2 separate regions of the Homo sapiens genome follow, and region 2 is linked to region 1. Evidence: promoter capture Hi-C in 16 types of primary human blood cells and fetal thymus (Javierre and others, 2016). All regions are on one chromosome and are shown on one strand. Each heading gives the region's core, a stretch centred on a gene start or on the middle of the fragment in contact. The rest is flanking DNA. Distances are from core to core; before and after follow the strand shown.

Evidence for each region. The method cuts DNA at HindIII sites, captures the fragments that hold promoters and counts their contacts. A CHiCAGO score of 5 or more calls a contact.
Region 2: a contact is called between a fragment that was not itself captured here and the fragment with the promoter of C7orf33 in region 1, in 10 of 17 cell types (activated CD4 T cells, naive CD4 T cells, non-activated CD4 T cells and 7 more). The highest score is 13.1, in activated CD4 T cells.

Annotation. Positions count from the first base shown.
Region 1 is chr7:148,588,651-148,594,191 of GRCh38, reverse strand. C7orf33 (chromosome 7 open reading frame 33) reads right to left here and starts at 3,426. Exons shown (of 3, transcript NM_145304.4): 1 at 3,063-3,426. The coding sequence starts at 3,266. RefSeq lists a silencer at 69-269. The HindIII fragment of the contact is 1,806 bases long and covers 2,678-4,483 here.
Region 2 is chr7:148,850,354-148,856,367 of GRCh38, reverse strand. The region is part of intron 1 of EZH2 (enhancer of zeste 2 polycomb repressive complex 2 subunit); the gene reads left to right. Among named protein-coding and RNA genes, the nearest start is that of EZH2, 31 kb to the left of the region's middle. The HindIII fragment of the contact is 1,046 bases long and covers 4,187-5,232 here.

The DNA of each region.
Region 1 (5,541 bases), core at 2,177-4,676:
GAAAAAAAAAAAAAAAAAAAGAAAAGAGGTTTAATTGGCTCATGGTTCTGCAGGCTGTACAGGAAACATGGCGTCTGCTCGGCTTCTGGGGAGGCCTCAAGGAGCTTTCACTCATGACGGAAGGCAAAGTAGAAGCAGGCACATCGAACAGCAAAAGTGAGAGCAAGAAAGCAAGAGAAGGTGCCACACACTTAAACAACCCGATCTTGTGAGAACTCACTCACTATCGCAAGGACAGCACCAAGAGGATGGCGCTAAACTATTCATGACAAATCCACCCCCATGATCCAATCACCTCTCATTAGGCCCCACCTCCAACACTAGGGATCACATTCCAGCATGACACTTAGCCGGGCAAATATTCAACCATGTCACTTCTTTTCCAGCAGGCATCTCTCTGGGCTCTGACCCTTTCCTGTCAATCCCAGTTGGGAGTCTCCGTTTCTACAATCCCCTCCAAACAGGCTGTATCCCCCGACCCTGGCTTCATGCTCAGCCTTTCCTAAATGCATTAAACACCCAGTCAGAGGAAAAGCATTTTGACTTCAAATTAACATTTAAAATAAAAACTAACTTTAAAACATGTTATTATGAAGGCAATAGAGATTCTCTATTTAAAGAAATTCAGGCCAGTTGCAGTGGCTCACACCTGTAATCCCAGCACTTTGGGAGGCTGAGGCAAGCAGATGATTTGAGGTCAGGAGTTCGAGACCAGCCTGGCCAACATGGTGAAACCTCGACTCTACTAAAAATACAAAAAAATTAGCTGGGAGTGGTGGCAGGTGCCTGTAATTCCCGCTACTTGGGAGGCTAAGGCAGGAGAATTACTTGAATCCAGGAGGCGGATGTTGCAGTGAGCCAAGATTGAGCCATTGCACTCCAGCCTGGGTAACAAGAGCAAGACTCCATCTCAAAATGAATAACAAAAATAAAGAAATTCAGAACATTCTGAGCTTTGGAAAAATAATACGTAACTCATAGTGCCATCCATAGACAACCACTTTGAGACTTTGCTGTATCTTCCAGTGATCTAATTAGATTTAAATCGTGTCGGCCAGGCATGTTGGCTCATGCCTGTAATCCCAGGACTTTGGGAGGTGAGGTGGGTGGATCACTTGAGGTCAGCAGTTTAAGACCAGCCTGGTGAACATGATGAAACCCTGTATCTACTAAAAATACAAAAATTAGTAGGATGTGGTGGTGGGTGCCTGTAATCCCAGCTACTGGGGAGGGTGAGGCAGGAGAATCATTAGAACTCAGGAGGTGGACGTTGTAGTGAGCTGAGATCGTGCCATTGCACTTCAGCCTGGGTGACAAGAGTGAAACTCCATCTCAAAAAAACAATAATAAAAAAAAGATTTAAATCATATCTACCCTGCTGGGGCACAGTGGCTTCCACGTGAAATCCCAGCACTTTGGGAGGTTGAGGCAGGCAGGTCACCTGAGATCAGGAGTTTGAGACCAGCCTGGCCAACATGGTGAAACCCTGTCTCTACTAAAAATACAAAAATTAGCTGGGCATGGTGGCGTGCACCTGTAATCCCAGCTACTTGGGAGGCTGAGACAGGAGAATCGCTTGAACCCAGGAGGCAGAGGTTGTAGTGAGCCAAGATCACGCCACTGTACTCCAGCCTGGGCGACAGAGCTAGACTCCATCTCAAAAAAAAAAAAAAAATCCTATCTACCCTATATGCTCCACCCATGCACTTGTGGCATCCTTTAAAAGGAAGGTTTAGGCAGTGATAATCTTTTCTCACCTTCTTTTAAGCACATATACGTCATTGATTATCATTTATATTCATCATTCAGAGACTAATTGTATTGGTTCACATCAAAGTACCCCTGGCTGAGGAGGTATTTTCTTCTTTTTACTCTTCTTATGCTAAATGGGCTTTCCCTGACATGGGCTGTCTGCATCTGACCTTAGCAGCAGGCAGACACAACCCCCTTGCTGACCCTGCAGTTCATGCTGCTGTTCTCAGGGAAAGGTCATGAAATCCTCTCTGCCCTCGAATGACCAGAGTCATTCTTCATATCAGAAGATACTCTGAGCCTGTGGCATGTGTCAGTTTGGGGCACTGTGCCACAATGAGGGTGTGGGCAAATGGGAAGAAGCCAGGAACTGCAACATGGGAGAAAACAAATTAGGGCTGGAGAACTAGGTGGGGACACCTGTGGTTCCCATCAAACTGAACACCCAAAGCTGGAGATAAATACAAAGTGGGAGCTCATACTTTAACCAAAAATGCCTGCCTAGTGGGAGGCAGGGGCTTGGGGATCAGGAGGTGTCAAAGATCAAAGACAGGCAAAGAGTTAAGGATCCAGGTCTTGCTGGGCATGGGTGGCACTTCGGGATGTTGAAGTGGGAGGATCGTTTGAGGACAGGAGTTCAAGACCAGCCTGGGCAACATGGCAAGACCCCATTTCTACAAAAAATAAAAAAATTAGCTAAGCCTGATGGCACATGGCTGTAGTCCTAGCCACCCGGGAGGCTCCTCTGGGAGGATCACTTGAAGCCAGGAGGTTGATGCTGCAGTGAGCTATGATTGTGACACTGCACTCCAGCCTGGGTGACAGAGCAAGATACTATCTCTAAAACAACAACAACAACTCCTGGTCTTTAAAGCGAGAGAAGAGACAAGAATCTAGGCAAGGAGAAGGGAACAGGTGCAAAGCTTGTGCCAAAGGGTGACCAAGATAGAGGCTTCCTGTGGACCCATCTCCAGGGCAAAACATAGTCTGAGAACAAGCGCATTCCTTCTACCACACTGTGTGAAAATATACAATTTTTACGCTGGAATTTTTCAAATCAACATGACTCAGGCTAAACACAAGAATACTCAGTGGAGTGTTTTGTGAGGATTCTTTTCCCTAAGAAGATTCCAGGCCTTCTTTGGGGCAGTGAATTAATCTCTGTCTCTCTCTTTACTTCAATGTCGTTAAGCCCAGTTCCATAACACATAGTAGAGAGTCAAAAACATTCATGGATTGAGTGAATGAATTCTCAAGAGATACTGACTGACTCAAAGAGCAGTTGATTCATCTTAGAATCATTAACTTACCTTATGTCTTCCCGTGGCATATGACAAGTTAAATTGACCTGGACCGCCCCTAACGTGGACCCAAACAGCGACTGCCCTCCCACTCAGGCGAAGGTCAATCCGGCGCCTTGCCCCACTGGGCAGGAGGGCTTCACATTCACATTGGGGGCCTGGAAGTCTCCAGGGACACTCTTCAAGGCTGAGGCTTTGAACTTCCACTTGCATTTTGGCAAAGGTAATTACCTTTCCTGGATGCTGTCAAGGAGAGCGGCGCTTCACCACCAATATCTAAGATCAAGTCGCACGGATCCCCAGGGTCAGTAGGAGGATTCAGACACAGGCTGGGCGCCTCGCTCCTGACCACTGGATTGGCATCACCATAAGTAAGGTCACAGCTGAGTAGAAAATGCCTGAGGCAAAGTGGGGGTGAAAGAGGGGCCACCGAGCAGTGTGATAGGCAGCCCCTTCCGCCAGCTCATTATCCCCACCTGCTCCTGTCGTCTCCTATTAGAATCCTAATGCGAGTTTACGGAAAGTCAGCTGGAGCTTGTCCTCCATGTAATTCAGATCACGTTGCCTGCAGCTCTTAGGTACTCAAATAAACAGAAGGACTAATATTACTACTGAAAAAGTAATTAAGGGCATTCATTGTAAAGTAATAATGATTACCTCACCCTCACCATATGGCCAGAACTGATTAACACCTAGAAGAAATGATCTAAAACCTCTACAATCAGAATTAATGTCTCAGGTCATAATGAGAAACATTTTGTAGCGGGGTTTGGCAGGGAAGGATGAAAAAGTGGTTGGGAGTTTACTAAATCAAGAGGCACAAACAAAATATTGAGGATAACATCCTTTTTCAGGATTTTTCATCTCATTCAGATTAGACAAGTTGCATTTTTAGTGTAGAACCCATATCACAAATGCAAAAAATATTACAAGATTTACACATTGGAATTGTCACTTAATTGGATGAGTTTTTCCTCCATTGTTTCTTTTATAATGATGAGGAATTGATGGAAGAATCTCCATCGAGGCTGGCAGTTTCTTAAATCACCAGGGAAGGGCTTAGCCCACTGATTGAAAATCTTCTTATCGTAAATTACTGGTTAAAATGCTATTTGTTGTCAGGAGTATCATGGAGTGTGATTTAATCTCTTAAGATTAGTTAAAGTGGTAGAAATGTTAGCATTTCTGGGTAATGCCAAACAGGTTAGCATTACAAAAGATGCCTAGAAAGATACGGACCCATTTGGAAGACAAGGTTGCTGTAAAAGCCAGTTTGCAGGTGCACCGTGGGGGGTGACAGGATGCCCTGGGCTGTTCTTGATTAGTGCGTGTGCCCTAGGGTCATGTGGTGAAGCATAAGGAAGCAGAATTTGGGATATTTTTCCCACCAGAATCCCTAAGATTACTCTGTGTACTGCTGGGGAAAAGCTTAATGGGCTCAACACCACCCTTGAGGGAAGGCAATAATGGAATCTCTTTTTTCTGCAAATACTTCCTTGGGTGGTGCATCATGATTCCCTGAGGCAGGATTTCCTGCAGCAGAGCTGGAGGGGCTGGAGGGGCTGGTGGGGCTGGTGGGGCTGGTGGGGCTGGAGGGGCCAGAGGGGCTGGTGGGGCTGGTGAGTCTAGAGGTGCTGGAGTTCCAAGAACTTGGCCTGGAATCTTGAACCTGCAGCCATACATTCGGACTCTAGCTTTGCCTTTTTACTTATCTGTCTTTGACCACTAAAGAAATAGACAGACCTCATAATATTATTTCCTCGACTGCCTCTTAAAAGTCAAAACCTTAAGTTAAGGACACCTCACATTTTGGTCAAGACCAGTGGACCTAGGTAAGAGTAAATCAGAGAATTCCCAAGGTGGAAGAAGTTATTCCTAGACAACGAATGAATCCCCTGGATTTGGGTTGCGGAGTGAGGTGACCAGCTGGTCACCCTGGGGGTGGACTGAGCCAAATGCCTAAGCCTCATTGTTGTTTTAATAACCCAAGTTGGATTCAGGGAGTACCTGTGCAATTCTGTGATTAGCACATCGGGCAGTGAGATTTCCGCACGTTGTAGCTGAGAGGCCGGCTGCTGAGACGACCCCTTAGGGAAAAGTGGAAAACTCTGCCTCCAGAATGGAGATCTGGCTTTCTCTTCCCCTGCTCAACCTGAGCTCAGGGATTCTGTGCCCCTCGCTCTCCGGACAGTTTTTACACCAGATTATCTTCTAATTGCTGTGAATGCAGCCGCATCAGCAAGTCCCCATCTGGGGACATTATCAATTTCAAACCTTGGTCAGTCATGAAGCCCCATTGAAGGACTTCATCCTGAAATCCACGAACAAAGAACGAGATCCCGCAATGCTGTCATCTAAAATGCCTGAAAATGCCAGTGCTGCGACAGATGGCCCTGCTCGGTGTAAGTGACAATGCCCCCAGCAGGCCATTGATTCTGTTTGTGAAATTTAAATATCTGAACAATGACTGATGGTGCTAGGGAGAAGT
Region 2 (6,014 bases), core at 3,460-5,959, 260 kb before region 1:
TATCTGACTAATTCATCACCACCTCTTGCTTATTTGTAACTTCTTTCTGTGACATTGAGAAACTTGGCACACATTATCTACATTTTATTTACTTATTTGTTTAACCCTAGTGTACATGTAGAGTATTTTCAGAATTACAGACTGGTACCCTTATGAGAAACAAATTTACCAGCTAGAGTACAGAGTAGATTGTCCAAAGTTCTGTAGATTAGCTCCCCCCGACCTCCTGCTCCTTCCATGAGATTATCTCATAAAATTATAATACTGTTAGACTTGCTGTATAGTTTGCATTCTATCCTGAGATCCCCTGACATCCTGTTTTGTTTTTATTTGCATACAGTTTACCATTTAAAAAAAGTCTTTATATTGAGTTGTTAACTTTTTAATATAAATGTTGTAATTCCTGATATTACTCATCTGCCATTTATGTAGTTGATAGTCACTACTTTTTTTTTTTTTTTTTTTTTTTTGAGATGGAGTCTTGCTCTGTCGCCTAGGCTGGAGTGCAGTGACGTGTTCTCAGCTCACTGCAACCTCCGCCTCCTAGGTTCAAGCGATTCTCCTGCCTCAGCCTCCTGAGTAGCTGGGATTACAGGCGTGCATCACCACGCCCGGATAATTTTTGTATTTTTAGTAGAGACGGGGTTTCACCATGTTGGGCAGGCTGGTCTTGAACTCTTGACCTCATGATCCACCTGCCTCGGTCTCCCAAAGTGCTGGGATTACAGGCGGGAGCCACAGCGCCCACCTGATAGCCACTACTTTTTTAATGCTGATATAGTGCTTACCATCTGTCAGGCACTGTCTATGCACCGTAAATAAATTTACTTCTCACAATGACTCTGAGGTGGAGGCTCTTGAATTAGCCTTTTTTCATGAGGAGAGTGAGGCACAAAGATGTGCAGTAACTTGGCCAACTTCACACCCAGCTGCTAAGTGGGAGAACTTGGATCTGAACCCAGGGAATGAGCTTTGGAGTCCAAACTCTTGCTTTTTGTTTAATGCTGTGTATAGGACTTAGAATTAATACAACTAACTCTTCTCTTATTAGTTTAGTTTATTACTTGGAATTTGGTGTGAAATAGAGAGTGCTGCTACCCCAATTCTTTGCCCCATGTGTGTAACAGGCATTATTAATCATGACAGCACTCTCTCTGCTGAGCTAGAACATGGCCTGGCCTAAGGCCAATAATCCTTATGGACACAACCCTCAAAGTGGTTGTATGAGATGAACTCTCCTTGCCATCTCTGATCTTGTCTGTTTTGAATCCTGATTCTAGTGCCCAGTGCATGGCACTGCGTGCCTGCTTCTCCTGGATTCCTCTCTCATGGTCTTCCTTTTTACAGGGACAGGTTTTCTATATTCCCCCTCAGGCATAGGATCTGTTTCTCTTAAGTAATTAATTTTTATCACTTACCAATAATTTAACATCTATATGTCTAAGTTCTCTTTATATTGTTTTTCTTATCCTTACCTACAAAATCTCATTTACCATTGATTTAAATTTCAGTATATTGAAACAATGGATTGTAACATTAAAAATAAATGAAATTGCCAAATGATACTAACAGCTGCCTTCAAAGCATTTAAACATACAAACAGGCACTATTGAAGACTGGAGAGTTATCAAAATTGGCAATTTTTTGGCAGTCTTGCTGTGAAGTAAACATTTTTAAAAGGAAGGACATTGAGAATATTGTAATCATATTACTTACATCTTGTTGGGTTTGGATTTGACCTTACATAGCCTGGTATTCAGTTAAGAGTCAAAGTTGCTGCTATTAATTTAGTTGAGAAGGATAAATAGTACATGTAGTTTATTGTTTTCTTTAGAGAAATAGAAACAGAAACATTTATTTGGCCAGACCAAATAGGTGGTCATTCCCTTGATTTAGCAAATCCTTGAGGTAGAATTTTTTTTTTTTTTTTTTGAGACGGAGTCTCACTGTGTCGCCCAGGCTGGAATGCAGTGGCACGATCTCGGCTCACTGCAAGCTCTGCCTCCCGGGTTCACGCCATTCTCCTGCCTCAGCATCCCGAGTAGCTGGGACTACAGGTGCCCGCCACCACGCCTGGCTAATTTTTTGTATTTTTAGTAGAGACGGGGTTTCACTGTGTTAGTCTCGATCTCCTGACCTCATGATCTGCCCATCTTGGCCTCCCAAAGTGCTGGGATTATTGGCGTGAGCCACCGCGCCTCCCGGTAGAATTTTTAAAGAAGCAATAAGGGCTCTGACAATACCTATGGGACTTTTTTCAAATTATTCAGTTATTGGCAGCTGGGTAAAGAGGGACAGGAATGTCTGATTTAGGTAAATACCTCTCACAAGTGGAGTAGGGGCGTATCTGGTAGAGAACAGTGCTGATTCCTTGGACTTGTGTGGCCTGGCCACCTGAGAGGTAGGTAGGAAGGTGTGTCTTGGCCATGTCCTGGGGCCTCTGTAAACCTGAGAGGATGGAGGAAGCTCTACTTTTTCTGACGATGCTGTTGGTGATAATGAAGTAGGCTATGAGAGCCCATCTTCCATTAATTCAGATGTTCCTATACAGTTGGCCCTCTGTAAATGGGATTCTACATTTGTAGATTCAGCCAACTGTGGGTAAAAATACTTGAAAAGAAACAAAAGTGTGTGTACTGAACATGTACATACTTTTTTCTTGCCATTATTCCCTAAACATAATAGTTTAACAACTATTTATGTAATATTTACATTGTATTAGGTATTTAGTAATCTAGAGATGGTTTTAAAGCAGGGGTCCCTAGTCCCCAGGCCGTGGACTGGTACCCGTCTGTGGCCCGTTAGGAACTGGGCTGTACAGCAGGAGGTGAGCTCCGCCTCCTGTCAGATTGGCAGCAGCATTAGATTCTCACGGAAGCGTGAACCCTATTGTAAGCTGCACACGTGAGGGATCTAGGTTGCACACTCCTTAAAAGAATCTTTTTTTTTTGGAGACGGAGTCTCGTCTCACTGTGTTGCCTAGGCTGGAGTGCAGTGGCATGATCCTGGCTCACCTCAACCTCTGCCTCCCAGGTTCAAGTGATTCTCCTGCCTCAGCTTCCTGAGTAGCTGGGATTACAGGCACCTGCCTCCACACCCAGCTAATTTTTGTATTTTTAGTAGAAACAGGGTTTTACCATGTTGGCCAGACTGGTCTCGAATTCCTGACCTCAAGTGATCTGCCTGCCTTGGCCTCCCAAAGTGCTGGGATATGAGCCACCATGCCTGGCCATCCTTATGAGAATCTAACTAATGCCTGATGATCTGAGGTGGAACAGTTTCATCCTGAAACCATGTACCCTCTCCCCTCTTTGTGGAAAAACTGTCTTCCACAAAACCAGTCCCTGGTGCAAAAAAGTTGGAGACTGCTGGTTTAAAGTATATGGGAGAATGTGTATACGTTATGTAATAGTGTACCATTTTATATCAGGGACTTGAGTCTTCGTGGATTTTGGTATCTGTTGGGGGTCCTGGAACTAATCCTCCGTGGATATGGAGGAACAACTGTATATATGGTCTCAGTAATAAATACGTATCTGAGATACCCTCTGTATTAAGAAAAAAAAGATGGGAATTTCTTGGCTCATATAACTGAATAGTTCCGAAATTTGGGAAGGTCTGCCTGACTTAGGGCTTAGGTCATGAGACTACAGTTCTTTCTTGGCTTTGACTTTTGTTTTTTGTAGTTGTTGACTCTGTTCTTTGAGGCTCTTCTCCAAGATGGCTTCCAACAAGTCCTTGGGCAAACATTTTTCCAGGTTTAGACCTAAGGGGAGAAGAGTGAGCATTCTTGTCCTAGCATTGCAGGAAACCTGAGATTTTCACTGTGACTGCACTGATTGTGGCCGTGTATCTAACCCTGTACTGGTCACTATGTCTAGGGAGATGTACCTTGGTCAGGCCAGGGTCACAAGCAGCTTGAGTCAGCTTCCTCCAGTGTACTTGGTAGTTCTCAGAGAAGAGTTGGTGTGAAGTTCCCAAGAGAAGGGTGAATTGACCCTGGGTGGCAAAAACAACATAGCATCTACTCTAGTGGGATAAAGTAAGATGGTAAGGCATGGTGTTCAGGGTATTTCTGAGTTTGGTTTGATTCACAAAATAGATTGTGAACACTGTAATTGCCCTTAATTTTAGTTAACCTATGTAAATGTAAATCTGTGAGGTGTCACTACATTCTGCTAAAGCTTTGATGGGCTCCTGCCATATTCTGGTTTGGCTTTTGTATTAAAGAGCCATTGTTGTTTTGGTTTCACTGTATACAGGTAGACTTTTGTTTTAATGAATAGAGGTATAATCTGTTTTGAACAGGAAAAGCTGCTTTTGTATTCTGGATAAAGTTCATACTAGTGGGATTTCACCTATGAAACTAAACAAATCTTTGAAAAATTTAAAAACCATATGTATTTACACAGTGTCCATTCAGTAGAAGTCGTTTAAATAAAGGCTTCTGCCAATATATGAATATTTAGAGCTGTATTTTATTATTTTACTTTTTTTGAGACAGGGTCTCGCTCTGTCACCTAGGCTGGAGTGCAGTGGTGTGAAGACAGTTCACTGCAGTCTCCACCTCACAGGCTCAAGAGATCCTCCCACCTCAGCTTCCTGAGTAGTTGGGACCACAGGTGTGCGCCACTACACCTGGCTTGCTTGCTTGCTTATTTATTGATTTGAGATGGGAGTCTCACTATATTGCCTAGGCTGGTCTTGAACTCCTGGGCTCAATCCTCCAACCTTGGCCTCCCAAAATGCTGGGTTTACAGGCTTGAACCACTGTACGTGGCCTTGAATCTGTGTTTTAATACTATGCTTACTTGGCTGTGGTGTTGTGAAAAGATCACTGAAAATGGAGTCAGAGGCCTGATTTGAGCCAGTCGTTTGTTGTGGGGGAAGGAGGTCAGGGGAGCTAACATCTAAAGGCTCACTATATGCCAGGCACAGAACCAAGTGTGTTTGCATGTATATTTCGTTTTTGTTGCCAGACTTTGAGGTAGGTTTTATGGATAAGGTCTTTAAGGCAATATCAGCTTCCTTTTAAAAAAGAAATTCCGGAAACTGAGTTTTAGGCTGAAGATCTCTAACTGGTAGTAGGGACAACTGAACCACAGGGTCCTAACTGACCCTGCGATTTATCTCCTTTTGCGGGGGGTTTCTTGATAATAGGGTGCACTTTACCTCATTTTTTGGCTCAAGCATGGATAGGCCACCCTTCCTTTTCATACCTATAGCTAAGCTTTACAAATGATATGCTGATAAGATACAAGCTACTCGTTATTCATGTGGGTTAATAGACCTGTTTGTTTGCTTGTTTTTAAGTCTATAGCCGCCCCACCCCCAATCTACAATTTCACCTTCTAAGGTTTTAGTTACTCATTCAAACTGCAGTCTGAAAATGTTACGATATTTTGAGAGAGAGAAGACTCTAGCTACGTAACTTTTGTAACAATATATTGTTATAATTGTTCATTTTACCATTAGTTATTGCTGTCAGTCTCTTACTGTGCCTTATTTATAAATTAAACTTCATGGGTATGTACGTATAGGAAAAAACATGGTATATTTAGAGTTTAGTACTATCTGCAGCTTTAGGCATCCGCTGTGGGGTTGGCGGGGGGCGGTCTTGGGAGATAAGTGGGGACTACTGTACAATTATCAGGCACACACAGGCTCTGGGATTTTACAAATGAGTAAAAGTGGTTCTTGCTGTTGAAGCACTTACAGTGGGAATAGAGTGAAATACATGAAAATGTGATTTTAATATGTTATAAATGCTATGATGGTGGGAGTTTGTTTTGTGTAAAACATCCTTTTAATTGGTACTTTAAATTTTAATATTCTTTCACAGGTCTACCTATTTAGTCTTACACTTTCAAAGAACTACCTGGATGCTGTAGATTTTCATGATATACTTTATTAGGTATGTTATTAATGGTAGAAACAGCATGGAAAGTCTTCCAGAATATTAGACAAGGACAGTTCTAGTACTAAAACATAAAATGCTAACTAATGTCTTCATC